2 separate regions of the Homo sapiens genome follow, and region 2 is linked to region 1. The links are contacts of gene promoters, found by promoter capture Hi-C in human tissues and cell types (Jung and others, 2019). All regions are on one chromosome and are shown on one strand. Each heading gives the region's core, a stretch centred on a gene start or on the middle of the fragment in contact. The rest is flanking DNA. Distances are from core to core; before and after follow the strand shown. Region 1 holds the start of TMEM33 (transmembrane protein 33). Region 2 has its middle 12 kb from the start of LIMCH1-AS1.

Evidence for each region. Contacts are between HindIII fragments. The study calls those that stand out against the background at their distance.
Region 2: a fragment that was not itself captured here is called in contact with the fragment with the promoter of TMEM33 in region 1 in 1 of the 25 tissues and cell types used here (H1 embryonic stem cells).

The regions. Positions count from the first base shown.
Region 1 is chr4:41,932,413-41,937,581 of GRCh38, forward strand. TMEM33 (transmembrane protein 33) reads left to right here and starts at 3,017. Exons shown (of 7, transcript NM_018126.3): 1 at 3,017-3,117. The coding sequence starts at 3,073. It overlaps LOC105374426 (a long non-coding RNA gene), which reads right to left and starts at 2,263. Exons shown (of 3, transcript NR_188374.1): 1 at 2,194-2,263. RefSeq lists enhancers at 2,857-3,036, 3,277-3,326, 3,337-3,406. The HindIII fragment of the contact is 16,795 bases long and covers 1-5,169 here.
Region 2 is chr4:41,702,639-41,707,788 of GRCh38, forward strand. No RefSeq gene overlaps it. Among named protein-coding and RNA genes, the nearest start is that of LIMCH1-AS1, 12 kb to the left of the region's middle. The HindIII fragment of the contact is 3,651 bases long and covers 1-3,262 here.

The DNA of each region.
Region 1 (5,169 bases), core at 1,767-4,266:
CACCTGGTCTGCCCATGGATACTAGAGGATAACCACACATCTGACAGAGGAAGAGCATTACAGTCTCATGGTTTTCCGACAGGGTGCCAGCTTTCCCGTGGGTCCCCAGTCCACTCCCTCTCCCTAGCCCCTTCATATTTGATTCTCAATCTACTGCTCTTCTCATGCATTTTTTTCTACACTTCTTCAGGTCTCAGCAGATGGCATTCCCCTTCCTACACACCCATACCTAGTTAGTCACCACATCTTAGAAGCCACCTCCAAGTCATCTTTCCTCTTCTTTTCCCCAACAACACTGCCTCAATCCAGAATCTCATCACTTCTTTCCTACACGTATGTGTTAACTTAAAACTCACAAGATCTATATGTTCAGAAAAGGAGACTTTATTTCTTATAAGGAGATACAGCCTGCAAGGTGGCCCTCTCATGGGCTGGGAAGCACAGCCTCCAGCAAGGACCAGAGACAGGCACTTTAAAGGAAGAGGAGCTGGGGTAGGAGCTTTATGCTGAATAGGTTGGCTAAACATACATATTCAACAGGTTACAGGAAGAGCTATGAATATTCATAAAAGTAGTCCTGATACATGCGTATGGAACAACATGCATGTTACATACAACCTGTGTTCACCTTGGGGTGGAGACTTAATATTTAATGTATTACAGTTAGGCTCTGTACCTCAAAAGGTGAAGCAGAGACGAAGGCACACAAGTGCATGGCCTCTGTAAAGTGGCCAGAACCAGCCTATGGTCAGTGGTCTTATCTGGAGAACGTTACTGAAATCAGTCTCTTGTGCAATCAAAGCTGTAGCTATGGTTGGTATAGCAGGGGTTCAGTTAGTGTCTGTGAGCTGGATTAGTTGTAATTGTTTTAATATTGCTTCTCTCTAGGCCAGTGGTTGTTTAGCTGCCAGAGGGAAAAAAAAAACCTCTTGTGGTAGAACATAGTTTATTTTTTAAGTGTAGGGGGTGCATGACTTAACCCTTGCCTGGCATGGCCTTAGGTCCTGTTTATAATTTGGTATCCTATTCCCACAAAGAGTTTGTTCTGTCAATGTTATGATCTTTATTGTAACATTAACATGTTAAACATAGGCTGACTTCCTAGAACTAATTTGAAAGGAAAACCCTAACTTTCCACGCCTAAGTAGTTGCTAGTCAGTTGTGTCTAAACTACAAAAGGGAGGGGGTATAATGAGGCATGTCTGATCTCCTGTCCCATCATGGCTGGGGTCCCCTTGGCCAAGAAAGGGATCTATCCAGTCAGTCGACAGACCCCTTACTTAGGATTTTATTTTTAGTTTATATATATATAAATGGCTTCACAACGAATTTCCTGACTTTTAATTTGCCCCTCTGTTCATCCTCCACCCTGTTGCCAGAGAGAACTTTCTAAATCTCAGGATGTCACACTTCTGATTAAAATTGTTCCATGGTTCTCTGGATTTCAGGGTCAAGTTCAGATCCTTTCCTCAGTACACCCCTGCCTGCCTCTCTAGCGCAAATCTTTCACAATCCCCTGACTGGTACCATCATTCTGGTCACACTCAACTAGTCCTCTCGCTGTCCTGTTACTTCTTGCACTTTCTGTTACTCTGTATGGAGTTCCCTTCCCGTTTTAAGGCAGAAGAATATGGTATGGCGGTAGGGAACCTAATGCCCTTTCTCGCTGACTTCCTAGAACTAAATTGAAGGAAAATCCTTACTGTCCACGCTTAAGTGAATAAAGGGCCAGATACTACTCCCTTTGCAAGCCCCAACCTGTTCTGCGCAGATTTGGGAAATTGAAAGTACCTCTGATTGGTTGCTTTTTGTAACCAATCAGACGTTTGCATAGAAGTGTAACTTTGTAACTTCTTCAGCCTCTGATTGGTTGCTTTGCGCAACCATTCAGACTGATTGCGGGCCACCACTTCATTTACATGAAGTGAACTCCAAGTGGCCAATGGGAAACCTCTAGGGGGTATTTGGACCCGAGAAGACTCTGTATCCAGGGCCCTTGAGCTGCTGTCTCACTCTCCCACACTCTGGAGTGTACTTTCATTTTCAACAAATCTCTGCTTTTGTTGCTTTATTCTTTCCTTGCTTTGTGCGTTTTGTCCAATTCTATGTTCAAAACGCCAAGAACTTGGACACCCTACACCAGTAACACTTTCAGCCAACTTTTTGTCGTTCAAGATCAAGGCCCGGACTTACCTTTTCCAGGAAACCTCCCCAGATCCCTTCTGATTTAGGTACCGTCCTCTGTGCTCCCTGTGATTAAATCAGCCTCTACACATATTACACAATCACTATGCTCTGATTTCCGTTTACTTGTTTCTCTTTTGCAATCTGTGTCATATTCCTCTTTTTATCCGCCGTGCCAAGTATGGAGCCTGTCACATAGCAGGCCTCATAAATACTTATTGAAAGAATTAATAATAGACGTAGAACCAACGGGCTTAGTAAGCCCCTGGAGAAAGGAATCAAAGATGTTTCTGAGGCCTCTATATCAGGAAGTGCGGAAATTTCATGGTTTGAGAATGGGCAGGAAAGATCATTTGTGAGCTGTATTTAATGCAAAAGTTGCTCCCCCATCCTGATTTCTTAGCTCACTGGGCCAATCGGCGGAAGGACAGGTGGGGCTCAAATTAGGAGAAAAAAACCACACTTCCCGTCATGCCTCTGGGCACCGCTCCCGTTTCCCCCTCTTTGTCACCGCCTCTTCCCCACGGAAATGAAAGGAGCACTTCCGGGTTCGGCAATAACCTGGAGCCGGCGGCGTAGGTTGGCTCTTTAGGGCTTCACCCCGAAGCTCCACCTTCGCTCCCGTCTTTCTGGAAACACCGCTTTGATCTCGGCGGTGCGGGACAGGTACCTCCCGGCTGCTGCGGGTGCCCTGGATCCAGTCGGCTGCACCAGGCGAGCGAGACCCTTCCCTGGTGGAGGCTCAGAGTTCCGGCAGGGTGCATCCGGCCTGTGTGTGGCGCGAGGCAGGGAAGCCGGTACCCGGGTCCTGGCCCCAGCGCTGACGTTTTCTCTCCCCTTTCTTCTCTCTTCGCGGTTGCGGCGTCGCAGACGCTAGTGTGAGCCCCCATGGCAGATACGACCCCGAACGGCCCCCAAGGGGCGGGCGCTGTGGTAAGTGCGAGGGCAGGGTAGTCTGGCTTGATTTGCAAGAGTTAGGAAGAAGCAGGAAGCGTTGCGAGTCCCGAGGCGTTCCAGAAGCTCAGTGCATTCAGGAATGGGATTAATGAGTTGGGGTGGGGAAGTTGGAGCGGGGAGAGGGGAGGTCCTGAGCGAAGATATGGAGGGAACTACAAGTTTGTTTCTGAAGCGACAATAGGCTGACCTGGAGCTGGTGGCCCCCACCTGTATGCCATGGAAATTGGGCCTTCTTTCCTCTTCTCCCACCTCGGTCTTTTGTTTACCGTAGGCCCCAAGGTTAAAGATGCCGCATGAGATTGTGCCATGACACACATGATCCATGACACACACCACGTGGAGCACACGAGTGCCGGCAAAGAACGTTTCTGCCTAGTTTATACAATCGTATATAGAAATTATGCAAAGGGAGGAGAGCGGTGGTCTTTTTCTTCTTCACTTTGTTCTTTATGAAGAGAAATATCATTATGCTTTTGTAATTTTTTTAAGATGCTGATCTGGAGCTAACAAGTTATTTGTGCCCGGAGCATTGCTGTCCTCTACTTTTTAATCCATAAGTAGTTAAGTATTATTCTGTGTGACCACAATGCAGTTACCACATTTGGGAAATATTACCTAATATAAAATCCATGTGCAAATTTCCATAATTGTCCTTTAAAGCTGCTTTCTCTTCATCTGGGATTCTGTCAAAAAGCATGCATCGATGGGCTGGCGCAGTGGCTCACTCCTGTAAGCCCAGAACTTTGGGAGTCCAAGGCGGGAGGATCGCTTGAGTTCAGGAGTTAGAGACCAGCCTTGGAAACATAGCGAGACCTCATCTCTACTAGAAATCAAAGAAATTAGGCGGGGCGTGGTGGCTCACGCCTGTAATCTCAGCACTTTGGGAGGCCAAGGCGGGTGGATCGCTTGCGCCCGAGAAGTTGAAGCTGCCGTGAGCCAAGATCGCGCCACTGCACTCCAGCCTGGGTGATAGAGCAAAACCTTCTCTCAAAACAAACAAACAAACAAACAAACATAAATTAGCCGGTCGTGGAGGTGCGCTCCTATAGTCCCAGCATAGTCCCAGCTACTCAGGAGGCTGAGGTGGGTTGTGCTTTTGCGCTCCAGCCTGGGGTGACAGAGCGAGACCCTATCTCAGAAAGCATGCATTCAATTTACTGGCCATATCTTGTTTACTGCCTTTTAATCTAGAACAGTTCTGCCCTCTCCTCCCCTTTTTTGTCTTTTAAGATACTGATAGTTTTCAAGAGTCCAGACATGTTTTGCAGCATATATAGGTACATCTAATATGTATATCTATATTATATATCAGGAAGCATTTTACATTGATTTATCCCATCATTGCAGAATTTGTTTGATTATTTGATTAAGGTGGTGTCCACCAGTTTCTCCATTGTAAAGATACCTTTTTTCCTTTCTAATTAAAAAGTGTTCTTTGGCATGATACTGTGACACTGTGTGAATATTGCTCCTCAACAATTTTTCACCCAAAGATCTAGTGATTTTTTTTTTTTTTTGCCTGATGGTTGGACAGTTTACTCTTAAAAAATGTATACCAATAGACTTTCTTAAACTTTTAAAATTGTATAATATACATAAGTGTGTACAAAATGAAACGCATAGCTCAATGATTTATTGCAGAATAAACAACCTGAACAAATAGATTTTAAGGAGAATGTTCTAAAACTAACTTTCAAGCTGTGGTGCCCAGTCATAATATTTGTTGAGAAACTGAGCACAGTAAGCTGGATTCATCCTTCACTTGATTACTGCTAATCATTTCAGTTTATTGGAGTCACAGTACGGTAAGTCTGGATTTAATGATAAATCAAAGTTGTATTTCATATTTCTGAAATTACCTACATGTGGGTTAAAAAGACATAAAATAAAACAGCCTGGAATTTTACAATGTACTTGGATTTTTCCCTCAAATTTTTTATATTTTTTTTTCAAAAGATAATGAAATTAAATTACATAGAGCAGTGTTTTTAGACTTCAGGTAGACCCATTAGTGAGTTGAGAAGTCAG
Region 2 (5,150 bases), core at 187-2,686, 230 kb before region 1:
ACTAGAACACTCTTTTTATAGTAAATTTACGCATATAAACAAATACTCAATGGACTGTTTGTCTTAGTCCCTTTTGTGTTGCTATAAGAATGCCTGAGACTGGGTAATTTATAAATAAAGTATTGGCTAATGATTCTGCTGTCTGTAAAAGTTCAAGATTGGGCATCTGCATCTGATGAGGGCTGCAGGTGGCTTCCACTCATAGCAGAAGGTGAAGGGGAGCTGGCACATGCAGAGATCACATGGTGAGAGAGGAAGCAAGAAGAGCGGGTGGGAGTGGGGATGCCAGGCTGGCTCTAACAACCAGCTCTTATTGAAACTGATAGAGCGAGAACTCACTCACCCTTGAGTAGGAGCTTTAATCTATTCATGAGGGATCCACCCCCATGACCTAAACACCTCCCGTTAGGCCCCACCTCCAACACTGAGGAACAAATTTTAACATAAGGTTTGGAGGGGACAAATATCCGAACCACAGCAGTATTTTTGTTTTTTTCCTCTTGTGATTTGATTTTTTTACTCTGGAAAGAAAAGTGGAGCTTTCCTTTGTGGCAAGGCTTTGGGCACCTTGGTGGTTGCTGCAGTAGAGGCTGAGGAGTCTGTCTGTGCCAACCACACCCCTGACCAGAGCCCACTGACCTCTCCCTAACACATACCATCTCCAAAACCTCCTGTTCCCTCCCAAAGTCTAATTTCCAGAGTCAAGGAAAAACTAGTGCTGCCTAATAGATAACACATTGTCCCACTCAACTTTTGCTTCATAGCCAAACCTCAAACTCAAACTCAGCCCAGACCTGAACAAAGGGAGGGTCTCTTTCTAACCATCCCGATGGAGAAAGGATTCTGATGGCACCCCACATTGGTTCCCATATCACAATATTATTTCACTCAAATAGATCCATTGATCCATGAATGAAAGTGTTTTCAGTTTTTAGCAGGAATAATGGCATTGTCTGTGATAGCTTGTGTTCTTTATTATTCACCAGGTAGATAGAGAATTATTTCAGCAGGTCCTGTGGTCTTAGAAAACACCTTGGCTGGCTGAGGATGACTCTACAGAGCTATAGGGAGCATCTGTCCAACATTTTCTCAAGCACTACACTCATGCTCCTTTGCTATGGAATTAATGACTAACCCAACGTCTGACCCTGGAGTATTGAACACTTCCTCCTGAATCCGTGAAAATCTGTGATTGTCTAATACCTTGAAAATCGAGAAACTTCATCTTGTTGATATGATAACATTCTGGGAAACATGGAATCATTGATTAGACTTGGAGAATGCCTTTCTGAGATGTGTTTTTAAAAAAAAAAAGGAATAATCAAAGGAATTTGCCTTGCCCAACAGTAAAATTTACTGGAATTTGCCTTGCCCAACAGTAAAATTTACTGTAAAGATAATAAAGTACCTATCTCGGGCAAGAATTGATAAACTAATTGATAAACTGATTGTAACTGTCACAGCAATGAATATGATATACAAATCCAAATAAACATAAAAACTTTAGTGTATAATAATAGTGTTTCAATGACCAGAGGAGGGATAGTTGATTAACATCATTTGTTTACAATAAAATTAATTCAGGTAGAGTAACGTGTTAAGTGCAGGAAAAGAAAAGATAGGCTTAAATATGTTTAAATACATACTCAATAAAGAGAATTGAAGGCAAATTTTAAAAATAATAAAAAGCTGGGGAAAATATTTCCAACAAATATAACAAAGAGCTAATAGCCATAAACTATGAAAGCTTTTTACTAATCAATAGGAAATGTACATAGACTCACAGAGAAATATAATGGCCAATAAATACCAAAAAATTTTCAACCATACTAGAGATATAGAAATGCAAATTAAAACAACAGTAAGATTGATGGCTGGCCCTGGTGGCTCACACCTATAATCCCAGCACTTTGGGAGGCATGAAGCAGGAGTATCACTTGAGCCCAGGAGTTCGAGACCAGCCTGGACAATAAAGGAAACCCCTGTCTCTACAAAACAAACAAACAAAAACAGTAAGACAAGACTCCTCCTATCTCCCCAAAAACAGAAAATTATTTAACTTTGTTAAGAATTAAGAACTTCTATATGGTGAAAAGAAAGTTTTTAAAAAGCTACAACCCAAGAGATTGGTTGCACATAAATCAATTAGTATCCAAAATATATAAGTAACTCCAGAACATCAATAAGAAAAATACAAACAGATCAACAGAAAACAACAAAAGACATGATGGGCATTTCATAGAAAACATGAATAGCAAAACACACAAATATATTCCATATTTTTAGGGAGGAAATATAAGTTTAAGCCGTTATGAGATACCATTTTATACAAGCCAAGCTGATAGAAATTTAAAGTTTTGATAAGACCAAGTGTTAGTGAGGATGTGGAACAATAGGAACTCATACACTACTGATAAGAACGTATATTGGTAAAACAGTGAGACAGTATATCATGCCAGTCAGAATGGCGATTATTAAAAAGTCAAAAACAAATGATGCCGAGGTTGCAGAGAAAAAGGAATGTTTTACACTATTGGTGGGAGTGTAAACTAGTTCAATCATTGTGGAAGACAGTGTGGCAATTCCTCAAAGATCTAGATGCAGAAATACCATTTGACCCAGCAATCCCATTACTGGGTATATACCCAAAGGGATATTAATTATTCTGTTATAAAGATACAAGCACACATATGTTCACTGCAGCACTTTTTACAATAGCAAAGACATGGAATCAACCCAAATGCCCATCAGTGATAGACTGGATAAAGAAAATGTGGTACATACACACCATGGAATACTATGCAGCCATAAAAAGGAATGAGATCATGTCCTTTGCAGGGACATGGATGGAGCTGGAAGCTGCTATCCTCAGCAAACTAACGCAGGAACAGAAAACCAAACACCGCATGTTCTCACTTATAAGTGGAAGCTGAACAATGAGAACACATAGACACAGGGAGGAGAATACCACATACTGGGGCCTGTGGGGAGAGGGAGAGTAGGAAGAATAGCTTGCAGATGCTGGGCTTAATACCTAGGTGAAAGGACGATCTGTGCAGCAAACCACCATGGCACACATTTACCTGTGTAACAAACCTGCACATCCTGCACATGTTCCCCTGACTTAAAAGTAGAAGGAAAAAAAGAAAAAAAAAGAATGTGTATTGGTAGACAATTCTGTATTATCTAGTGAAGCTGATGAAGCTCATACCCCTTGACATAGCAATTTCACTTCTAGAACATAAATACCTTAACCTAAACGCTAGAGAAGCTCAAGAAAACTCTCACCCACGTGCCCTGGGAGACGTGTTCAAGAAAGTCCTTCACAGCACCGTTTGGATATTATGGTATTCTATTTTAGTAGTGAAAAATGAGTGAACTGCAGAGTATACACATATATTTAGGTGAATCTCAGAAAATATAAGGTTAAAATAGCAAGGCACCCATAATTACATACAGTACAACATCATTGCTATGAAGCTCAAAGACAATAGAAAACTAAGCATTATAGTCTCTGGGATTACCTGATATAACAATAAAAGAGCAAATCAAAACAAAAGATTAACACAAACAAAATCCAGGATTTGGTGCAGGAGGAAGGGGATCCCTATCAAGGAGGATAGACAGGGGCTATCAACTTCATTGCCTTTTTATGTTTTCACATTTATTCGTAAGTTTTGTTTTGTTATGAGTACCTTCAGCCCTACTAAATATTGACAAACTGCTTTCCAAAGTGATTGCTCCAAATAGTTTAACAAAGCATAGAAGATCCTATTTCCCCACATCATACTCAAAAGTTGGTATCTCTGGTTTCTTAATTTTTTTTGCCTTTCTGATGGAAGGCATTGCTTAAATTTATGTTCTCCTGACTAATGGTGAGGCTGAAATGGGCATATTTTCATATCTCTATTGGACTTCTGGACACACAAATGGACCAATTTCCACTTCTGTTAATTACCTGTTCATTTCATTTGCCAATTTTCCTATTGAATGGCTTTCTTATTATTATTATTATTATTATTATTATTATTATTATTATTATTATTATTTGAGACAGGGTCTTGCTCTGTCACCCAGGCTGGAGTGCAGTGGTGCCATCTCAGCTTACTGCAGCCTCCGCCTCTGGGATTCAAGCAATTCTCCTGCCTCAACCTCCCCAGTATCTGGGATTACAGGCATGCACCACCATGCCAGATCATTTTTTGTATTTTTAGTAGAGAGAGGGTTTCACCATGTTGGCCAGGCTGGTCTCCAACTCCTGACCTCAGGTGATCCACCTGCCTCATCCTCTCAAAATATTGGGAGCCACCACACCCAACCAAATGGCTTTATTATTCATACAGCTTTATAGGGGTTGTGTAAATATTCTAGATCCCAATCTTTTATCAATTGCTTGCATAAAGGTATCCTGCTACATACTCTTAAAATTCTTAAAGTTTTGAATTTGACATTTGGATCTTTATCAAGTGATGTAGGGATCTAATGTTTTTCCTCTTTGGATAGTCGATTTTCCCAGAACCCCTTAAAAACCCATCCTTTCCCTGTTGATTTGTAATATCACTCCTGTGGGATACTGATTTGCATATATCTAAGAGTCTGTTTCTGGGAATTTATTCCATTTCATTAATATATTCATATATGTCTACACTATTATGACACTATTTTAATTACTATATTTTTATATTAAGTCTTGCTGTCCAGAACAGCAAACTTCCTTTCTCAAAATTATCTTAGCTATTTTTGGCTCTTTACTCTTTCATACACATTTTAGGATAAGCTTGTAAATTCTAAAATGCCTTGGGATTTTGATGAACATTGAATTTATAGACTATACTTTTCTAATTAGTATTGCTCATATACAAGAATACTACTGATTTCTTTATGTTAATCATGGACCCAGCAACTTTGCTGGACTCTTTTATTAGTTCTACACATTGTTTATCATTTCTCTTGAATTTTCTATGTTAATCATCATCATCTACAAAAAAGATTACTTTGTCTTTTTTTATGTTCTCATTTTTTTCATGTCATATTGTATTGCTAAGCTATCCAGTAATTGGTGATAATAGATATCCTTGTCTCATTGTTATTTACATAGGCAAAAAATTGGAAAACATCCTAGATGTCTAACAATAGGGAAATCATTGTGA